Regions from separate parts of the Homo sapiens genome. Here region 2 is linked to region 1. Evidence: promoter capture Hi-C in 16 types of primary human blood cells and fetal thymus (Javierre and others, 2016). All regions are on one chromosome and are shown on one strand. The core of a region is centred on a gene start or on the middle of the fragment in contact, and the rest is flanking DNA. Distances in the headings are between cores, read along the strand shown.

The links. Contacts are between HindIII fragments. The CHiCAGO score rates a contact against its expected background, and 5 or more counts as called.
Region 2: a fragment that was not itself captured here is called in contact with the fragment with the promoter of RSKR in region 1 in 3 of 17 cell types (total B cells, naive B cells and naive CD4 T cells); the score reaches 6.3 in total B cells.

What each region holds. Positions count from the first base shown.
Region 1 is chr17:28,611,853-28,615,840 of GRCh38, forward strand. It overlaps RSKR (ribosomal protein S6 kinase related), which reads right to left and starts at 2,333. Exons shown (of 12, transcript NM_001174103.2): 1 at 2,235-2,333; 2 at 1,588-1,836; 3 at 1,410-1,493; 4 at 1,226-1,294; 5 at 766-835; 6 at 410-514; 7 at 192-232. The coding sequence starts at 2,309. BLTP2 (bridge-like lipid transfer protein family member 2) reads right to left here. Exons shown (of 39, transcript NM_014680.5): 38 at 3,812-3,946; 39 at 2,594-3,394. The coding sequence ends at 3,212. The region is part of intron 2 of SPAG5-AS1 (SPAG5 antisense RNA 1); the gene reads left to right. RefSeq lists an enhancer at 1-697. The HindIII fragment of the contact is 13,614 bases long and covers 1-3,539 here.
Region 2 is chr17:28,477,812-28,481,799 of GRCh38, forward strand. The region is part of intron 1 of SLC13A2 (solute carrier family 13 member 2); the gene reads left to right. Among named protein-coding and RNA genes, the nearest start is that of SLC13A2, 6.2 kb to the left of the region's middle. The HindIII fragment of the contact is 3,847 bases long and covers 1-3,626 here.

The sequences.
Region 1 (3,988 bases), core at 1,083-3,582:
TGTATACACCCCAGCTGAAGGTGATGCCCTACTCAGCACTCAAATCTATACTCAGAGAGCCCTTCCCCAAATCCTTGGCACCCATGGGGGCCCCAATGTCTACAGTTCTCAGCTCCCTAACTTCTTGGACTTGTTGGCACTTCTTATTGAGACTCTTTCTCAGACAAAGGGAAAAAAGCACTTAACTCTACCTTCACATCTCGATGCATGATGCCCAAGTCATGGAGATAACCTGTGGATAACAAGTATGGGGTATGCTGCAGCTTTTCTGTCCTTTCCAGTTTCCCTAGTAGCCCTCATCCCATCCCTATCCTATTCTTTAACTTCCATTATTAATATTAATTTTTTACTCTCCTTCTTCCGAACTTAAATCTTCCCTCCCCATTTCCTTTACCACTGTTTCACTTACACAGTACCAGCACCAACTCGGCAGCAAAGAGACGGATGGAAGCCTCAGGAAAGCAGCCAACAGCCGACCAAAGGGAGTACAGATCTGTGCTGCAGTAGCTACACACTGCAAAGCCAGTGTGGAGCTACATACATTGCCAGAAGTCTAGGCAATGTTTGGGAGCTGCAATGCCTGGGCTCAAGGCATTGTAGGCCTCCTGCCCAAACTGATACCACCTGCTGTTCCCCTCCCTTTGGGACAGAGAGGTGCCATGAGAAGGGGGACAGAGCAAAGGCAGAACAAGCCAAAGAGGTAATCTCAGGTGGGGAACATGGTACAAAGACCCTGGGGGATGAGGAGAGAGTCCAGTCACTCACTAATGAAAAGGTGCCGTTTTCCCTGCCAGCTGTCCCCCAAGCTGTGTACAAAGGGATGGTTGATCTGTCGCTAGGAACAAAGAAAACAGGAAGTTAGGGAGGAACAGGGTCATTGAGAATAAAGGCAGCTGAGAAATCAGGTTTTACCCAGATGTGCAGAGGGGGAACTGCTGCCTCACCTCTCAGTTCAGAGGAACTCAATATTTGGAACTGACTATCTGGTAATCCTAGAACCAGCAAATACTAAGGAATACACTGGGACATGCTTCAGAGATTTCCCTAGTAGGACATGGGAAAACTGTGTTGAGAGCTGATACTTTTCCCAGGATCTACTTTAGTGTTAAACTAGGCTGAAGCAGATGGATGAGGCAGAACCAGGAAAAGAAGGTGGGCAAGAAAGGTACTTTCCCTACCTGTGGCCTAGCTCTTCCCACAATCCTTTCCAGGACTCTGTGCATACCTGGATGCTAACCTCCTCTTTGCACTGCCTCACGGTATCCCTCTGTAGGACCTTTACCTTGGGCACCACCTATAAAAGGAGAGTAGTGATGACTCATAGATAGTGCTATTGAATTGTTTATTCCTCCCAACCTCTCTGGAATCAAGATTGGAAACAGAGACTAATGTGGTATCTACGCCCCTACCTTCACTGCAAATACAGCTTTCTGGGTGCAATCTAGCACCTTGAGGACAGTTCCAAAGGAGCCTTTAGCCACGAGGCCTAAAATCTGTACAGAGGAATGGAGAACAGGCCAGTTGAGACTGGTCATTTTTAACTTCTCCCAAAGACTGAGACCCCACTCAGGGATTCCACTGACTTACCTTCAGCTGCTGCTGCCCCCTAATGGGCCTAATGGGAAACTCTGGTAGAAAGAGGTTGATGAACTGAGGCACTGGCCACTCTGGCAGAGGCTTCTCTACCAGTACTGGGGCTGGCTTTAGGGATTCCTGGTGCAGATAGTGGTGCCCCCGTAGTTCCCAGAGTTCTTCCAGATCTGACCTGATGGTTCCCAAACCTGTCCAGAGGCTCTTCCAGCCTCGGGCCCAGGGACCCCGGATGTTGCCACCCTGCTGAGAACCAAGGGAGCCACTCTAAACTTTCTGCTCCTGAGGCATAGCAGGTTCCACCCATCTTACTAGGCACTCCCTCCCCTTAAGTCTCAACCCCTAGAGGTACATTTTTGAGCATGAGGCAAAATTCCCATTACCCTTGCTTTGTGCTAAGCCCCAGATTTCCTGGGCACAATTCAAATCCTCTAGGAAAATAATTGTTGGACATTTTCACCATGACGCATTAAGAGTACAGCCTGCACCTCAGTATTGGGCTGTGATGCTTTCATAGTACAGCCTCCCTGCCCCACCCCCACATTGGGTAATCACTTCCATGCTCCTAACCAGGAACTTCCCAGGACTCAAGCCCATGTCTCCCTCTCCTCCCCTCAGTAGGCTGCCAGAGCCCCACAGCCTACCTTGTGAGGGACAGCCACCCGGGTGTGTTCCCCCTGCTGGGTGTGCTGCCCCTGCCGACAGCTTACTGCTCCCATTCCCAGCCTCTGCCTCCTCTCTCTGCTAAATCTGCTGTCCCAGTTATATAAGCAATTCCTCTCCCTGATGCTGCGTGACACGAGCCCCGCCTCTTCCAGTCTGCAGAAACCCATCAGCATGGGGCCAGAGTCACACTAGGACTAGAAATTTCTGTGATACAGCTTCAGGGCAGAGGAAGGAAGGGGCCACCCTCAGAGTGGCAGCTGCAGGATGTTCTGGGTTGATGAGGGAGGAATACACAGATTGAATGCATGCACTCAACACACACACACAAAAATGAGCATCAAATTTAAAATATCTTTTTTTTTCTCTTTAAATCATTTTGCCATTCTCCAGGGTATATCCTACGGGGAAGGGTAGGGGACCCATGGCCAGCCCTGGCTCCTACTGCCATCCTCCCAAGTGAACTTAGCACAGAGACTGGGGAGGGGTTGACCCCCACTCCAGAACACCAATACCTCTTTCAAACATGACAGTGGAGTGAGGATCAGAGGATCAGCCCCCTCCCGTTTCCTGGCACAGAGGAAGGACAGTTACACTTAGAAATATATATATAATATATATATATTTATATATGTCTATAAAAATTTATCACACTTGATCAGGACTATCCCCCTACCCTTTCACTTGACCCCAAGGGAATAGGGTCCTGCCCTGGGCCCATTCCCTGGGTCTTGCTCTCTTGTTGCCTCTCTGGCCCTGAGCCTGATCAGTGTGAGACAGAACTCAGCATTACTGTCCACCATGCCCTGCAGCGAACAGACCAGGTGCTGAAGAGTGATGCCTATGGGCTCTGACACCCACAAATCCTCGTGGATAACGGGAAGCCCCTCCCACCCCACAAGTCCCTGGAGCCTGAGCCAGAGTCAGATCCTGTACTGCAGCCACTCGAATCGCCAAATCATTTGCGCCTGCCAAAGATGGACTTCTTGCCAGGGTTCTTGTCGCCCACACTTAAACCAATGAGGAGCCGGGCTTTCTCCTCCTCTTCCTGCTGTTGCATGTTCAGGTCCGATTTAGTTTCTAGCTTTCCCCGGACCTCAGAGCCTGTTGCAGACTTCAGCCTTAGCTTCTCTTTGATTACCTGGCAGATTGGAGAGGAGTAAAAGAAAATGTAAATATTAGTGGGCAGGCAGAATAAATCAAAATGAACCAAGACAATAAAGATTTATTAAACACATCCAAGGCACAATGGGGCAATTCACATACAATGGTCTCTGCTTTCAAGAAGCTTACAGTCTAATTATAACCCCTTCTAAACTTTAGGTTGTGTTAGCTCTCAGTTCCCTAAAATCAATGGTGCTATACGAAACACTCAGTAAACACTGAATTTAATAATCTGAGTGAGGTCATGGAGAGGGTAGGCATAGAAGCCACTCACTTCATGCACCTGCCCCTTCCCAAGGATATTTATTCATGGATTCTAAAATGAAAGGCTCCTGAAAAGAGGATCTGCCTGCCAGCCCCATTAGCCAAACAGCCATGAGCCCTGGCGGGATACCTGGGCAACCAGGGCTTTGCGGCTGTCCCTTTTGACAGCCATGGCAAAGTCTAGCCATGTCCATGTGTTGTTGTGGTACTCCAGACAGGGCAGCACCAGGTTAAGGTCACCCCAGTCCACACTGTTCTTCTCACCCTGTAAGAGGAGGGGGAGGGGAAAGAAAAAAAGAGGGGTGGG
Region 2 (3,988 bases), core at 453-2,952, 130 kb before region 1:
AGGCGGGCGCCCAAGGTGGGCAGATCACCTGAGGTCAGGAGTTCGAGACCAGCCTGGCCAACATGGTGAAACTCCATCTCTACTAAAAATACAAAAATTAGCCAGGTGTGGTGGCGCATGCCTGTAATCCCAGCTACTCGGGAGGCTGGGGCAGGAGAATCGCTTGAACCCGGGAGGCGGAGGTTGCAGTGAGCTGAGATTGTGCCACTGCACTCCAGCCTAGGAGACAGAGCAAGGCTCAGTCTCAAAAAATAAAAAAAAAAAGCCTATGTGTTACATGAGGTTACTACTACTATCTCCATTTTACAGACATGTAAACTGAGGGCCAGTGTGGGGAAGCAATTTGCTTAAAGTCCCAGCTAGGAAAAAAGTTTGAACTGGAACCTGGTGTTGGAGTCTCTGCCTGAGGCTCCCTGGGAGGCCGGTGGTGCCCCCGCTGTGACCCACCTCTCAGGCCATCCTTTCTCATGTCCGTCCAGCTGTCAGTCAGTCCTCCCACCATACTTCAGTCCAGCATATCTGTTGAGCTCTTGCTCTGTGTCAGGGGTTACCAAAAGGAATACAGATGTTCCATTCTCAAGTTGCTTATAGTCTATAGGAGGAGACAGGTGTTTACACCACACAAAGGTTCAGCCAGAAGGCTGCAGAGCTCAGAGGAGGGAGCAAATTCTTCCAACTGAGTCAAGGGAGAATCTGAAGGAGGCAACATTTGAGTTGGGCCTTGAAGGTTGGTGGAGTTTTAACAGTCAGAGGCATCAGCAGAACAGGTGAATGGAACCACAGGAGGAAAGATGTAGGGGCCAGGAATAGTAGGGTGTGTTTGAGGGGTGGCAACAGAACCTTGAAATGCTAGTCACTCTCTGGTGGTCCCAGCAGATGGGGAACAGGAGGGCCTGGGGTCTTCCTGCTCTCCCAACCCTGCAGCCAGACATGGAAACCTTACATCCATTCAAATGTATTCATCCAACCATGCATTTTGTTAGTGAACATAGAACTCAGTACTGTGTGACAAGTACTGTTTGGGTGTGTTGGGAAGAGAAAGTGGGAGGAGTGGGGAGACATACAAAAAGCAGAAACAATGCAGCAGGCTATGACCACAGCCTGGGGAGGGCTGCTCTAGATGGGGTCAGGGAAGGCCTCCTGAGGAGGGTGTTCCAACACTCTGGGAGGTCAAGGTGGGTGGATCGCTTGAGTTCAGGAGTTCAAGACCAGCCTGGGCAACATGGCAAGACCCTGTCTCCTCACTAAAAAAATTAGCCAGGTGTGGTGGTGTGTGCCTGTGGCCCCACCTACTTGGGAGGCTGAGGCAGGAGGATCACTTGAGCCCAGGAGGTTGAGGCTGCAGTGAGCCATATGGTGCCACTGCACTCCAGCCTGGGCAACAGAGCAAGACTCCTATCTCAAAAATAAATTCTCTATAGTCAGCCAAGCACAGCTCTGGGTAAAGAGCCATCCAGGCAGAACAAGCAGTAAGTGCAAAGGCCTGCAGATGGGGAGAGCTTAGCAAATTGAAGGGATTAAGCAAGGCCAGTGTGGCTTTGGGGGCTCGAGTGAGGCCTTAAGAGGCCTCACTAGATTGCTTAAGTCAAGTTTAGAGAAGAGGGTTGAGGTCAGCCAATGTCAGCCCTACAAGGCTACAGGGAGGAGTAGGGATTTTGTGCTGTGAGCATTAAGGGGTGAATAACTTACGACTCAGGGGTTGTTCAGCTAGTAAGTTACAGTCACAACACAAACACCTCCCAGGACCCAAAGGCATCTGTAAAAACAGTCTCCTAGTGGCTCAACATTGGCCAGGACAGAATTCAGCTGAAGTCAATATTGCATTTATTGTAAGGCCAGAAGGCAGAATTTCTTAATCTGAATCACTGGCCCTTTTAGAATGCATAAACATTACATGTGTTTGAATTTTAAAATCTGTGTAATTAAGGCTGGGAGTGGTGGCTCACACCTGTAACTCTTGCACTTTGGGAGGCCAGTGCAGGAGGGTGGCTCGAGTTCAGGAGTTCAAGACAAACTTGGGCAACGTAGAGAGACTTGTCTCCACTAAAGATCAAAAAAGTTGGCTGGGCGCAATGGCTCATGCCTGCAATCCCAGCACTTTGGGAGGCCGAGGCAGGTGGATCACCTGGAGTCAGGAGTTCGAGACCAGCCTGGCCAAGATGGCGAAACCCCATCTCTACTAAAAATACAAAATTAGCTGGGCGTGGTGGCACATGCCTGTAATCCCAGCTACTCGGGAGGCTGAGGCAGGAGATTCTCTTGAACCCAGGAGGCAGAGACTGCAATGAGCCAAGATCACGCCACTGCACTCCAGCCTGGGCAGCAGAGTGAGACTCTGTCTCAAAAAAAAAAAAAAGGGGGGGTCAAAAAAATTAGCTGGGCATGGTGGCGCGTGCCTGTGGTCCCTGTTACTTAGGAGAACCAAGGTGGGAGAATCACTTGAGCCAGGGAGGTCAAGGCTGAAGTGAGCAGTGATCATGCCACTGCACTCCAGCATGGGTGACAGAACAAGGCCTTGTCAAAAAAAAAATCTGTGTAGTTAAAATACTCTTAGTGCAAGCTGTTCCTGAACCTCAAAGGCAGGGACTTGGATGATTCACTTCGGGCATGAAAACTATACAAGGAATTTGGACCTCTGTTCTGGGCCCCACCTCTACCTTTTGAGATTTCTTGGCCCTCAGCTGAGATAGCAGAGTCCAGTGAACAAAACATGGATTTTGGAGCCAAACAGGTGTGGGTTCAAATCCATTCAGCAGCGTGTACTGCCGTGTGACCTGACCGAGCCTCTTCAAACCCTGCCATCTCTAAGGGGTGTTGTGAAGATGAGCTGAGATAGCACACATATACGTAGAGTACCTGGCACCTGGGGCTTGATAAACACTTGCTCCCTTCGCCCTCTGCCTCTTATCTGAATTCCTGGGCCCCTGGAAAACACAGACTGGTCTGGAGCCCTGTGTGGATACCTCACTTCTTCTCCATTGCTCTGTTCAAATGGGCTCTTGTGCTTAGGAGGGCCTCAGATGTTCCCACCTATAGAACAGGAAGGAATGTCTGGTCACCCACCAGATTGGTGAGCTGTGTCCCTAGGAATACCTGCAGCTGTGTGGAGGTAGTTTTTCTAGCCTCTGGGATGCCTGGAAATAGGATAAGAAGAAGGACCCAGCCTCAAAGGCCAGGGGGATCCCTGGCGTAGAGTCCCCAACTTGGATTTTGCCCAGATTACTAAATCGTGTCCCTGTTTATCGGCACCTGCTAGGTGAAGGCCAGGAATGGGAAAGTAAGTCACCCTCTTCGACAGTAAAGTTTCCTGGATGTAATCCAGCAGCGAGGCTCAGGGCTGTCACAAGGATCAAATTCGTAGAGGAGCTTGCATTTTGCTCTTTAGTGCATACAGGCAGGGCTGGCCCTGGCCCAGGCTGTGATATCAGGACTCTTCTCCCCACTTTTGTTTTCTCCAGCACTCAAAAATTCATTGTTCCCTTTGGCCTCTTAAAACAGAAGCTGATGCAACAAAGTCATTCACATCAAGGTGTGCAAATCAATGAAGGACACTTGAATGAGAACAAGCAAAGGGTAGGAAGAGTCACCGCCATCACGTGCAACTTGAGGCAGGCATGGGGTGGGAAAGCTTTAGAATGGTCAAAAGGGAAGGCTTCCAGTGCATGCTGTTGGGCACAGGGAAGCCATAGGCGGCTAACTAGAAGCAGCACCCCAGGTGACTGGTTAGGGGAGCACATTTCGCTTTCTGGGCTTGGTCCTGAGTTGGAAGTAGGAGTAAAGAGTTTGGGGCAAAAATCAGGGGAATTGGCAATCATCGAGCAAATCCTGAGTGTTTAGGGCTTACTGCTGTAGAGGTTGTCGTTTGACTTCTCGGCTGGTTATTACAGAAGTTGTGAAACATATTTTTACATATGAACTGGCCATTGTCCCCTTTGTATATTCAGTCCTCAAAGAATTAGGCATTTGGCATCTGCCTATTCTTCCTGGA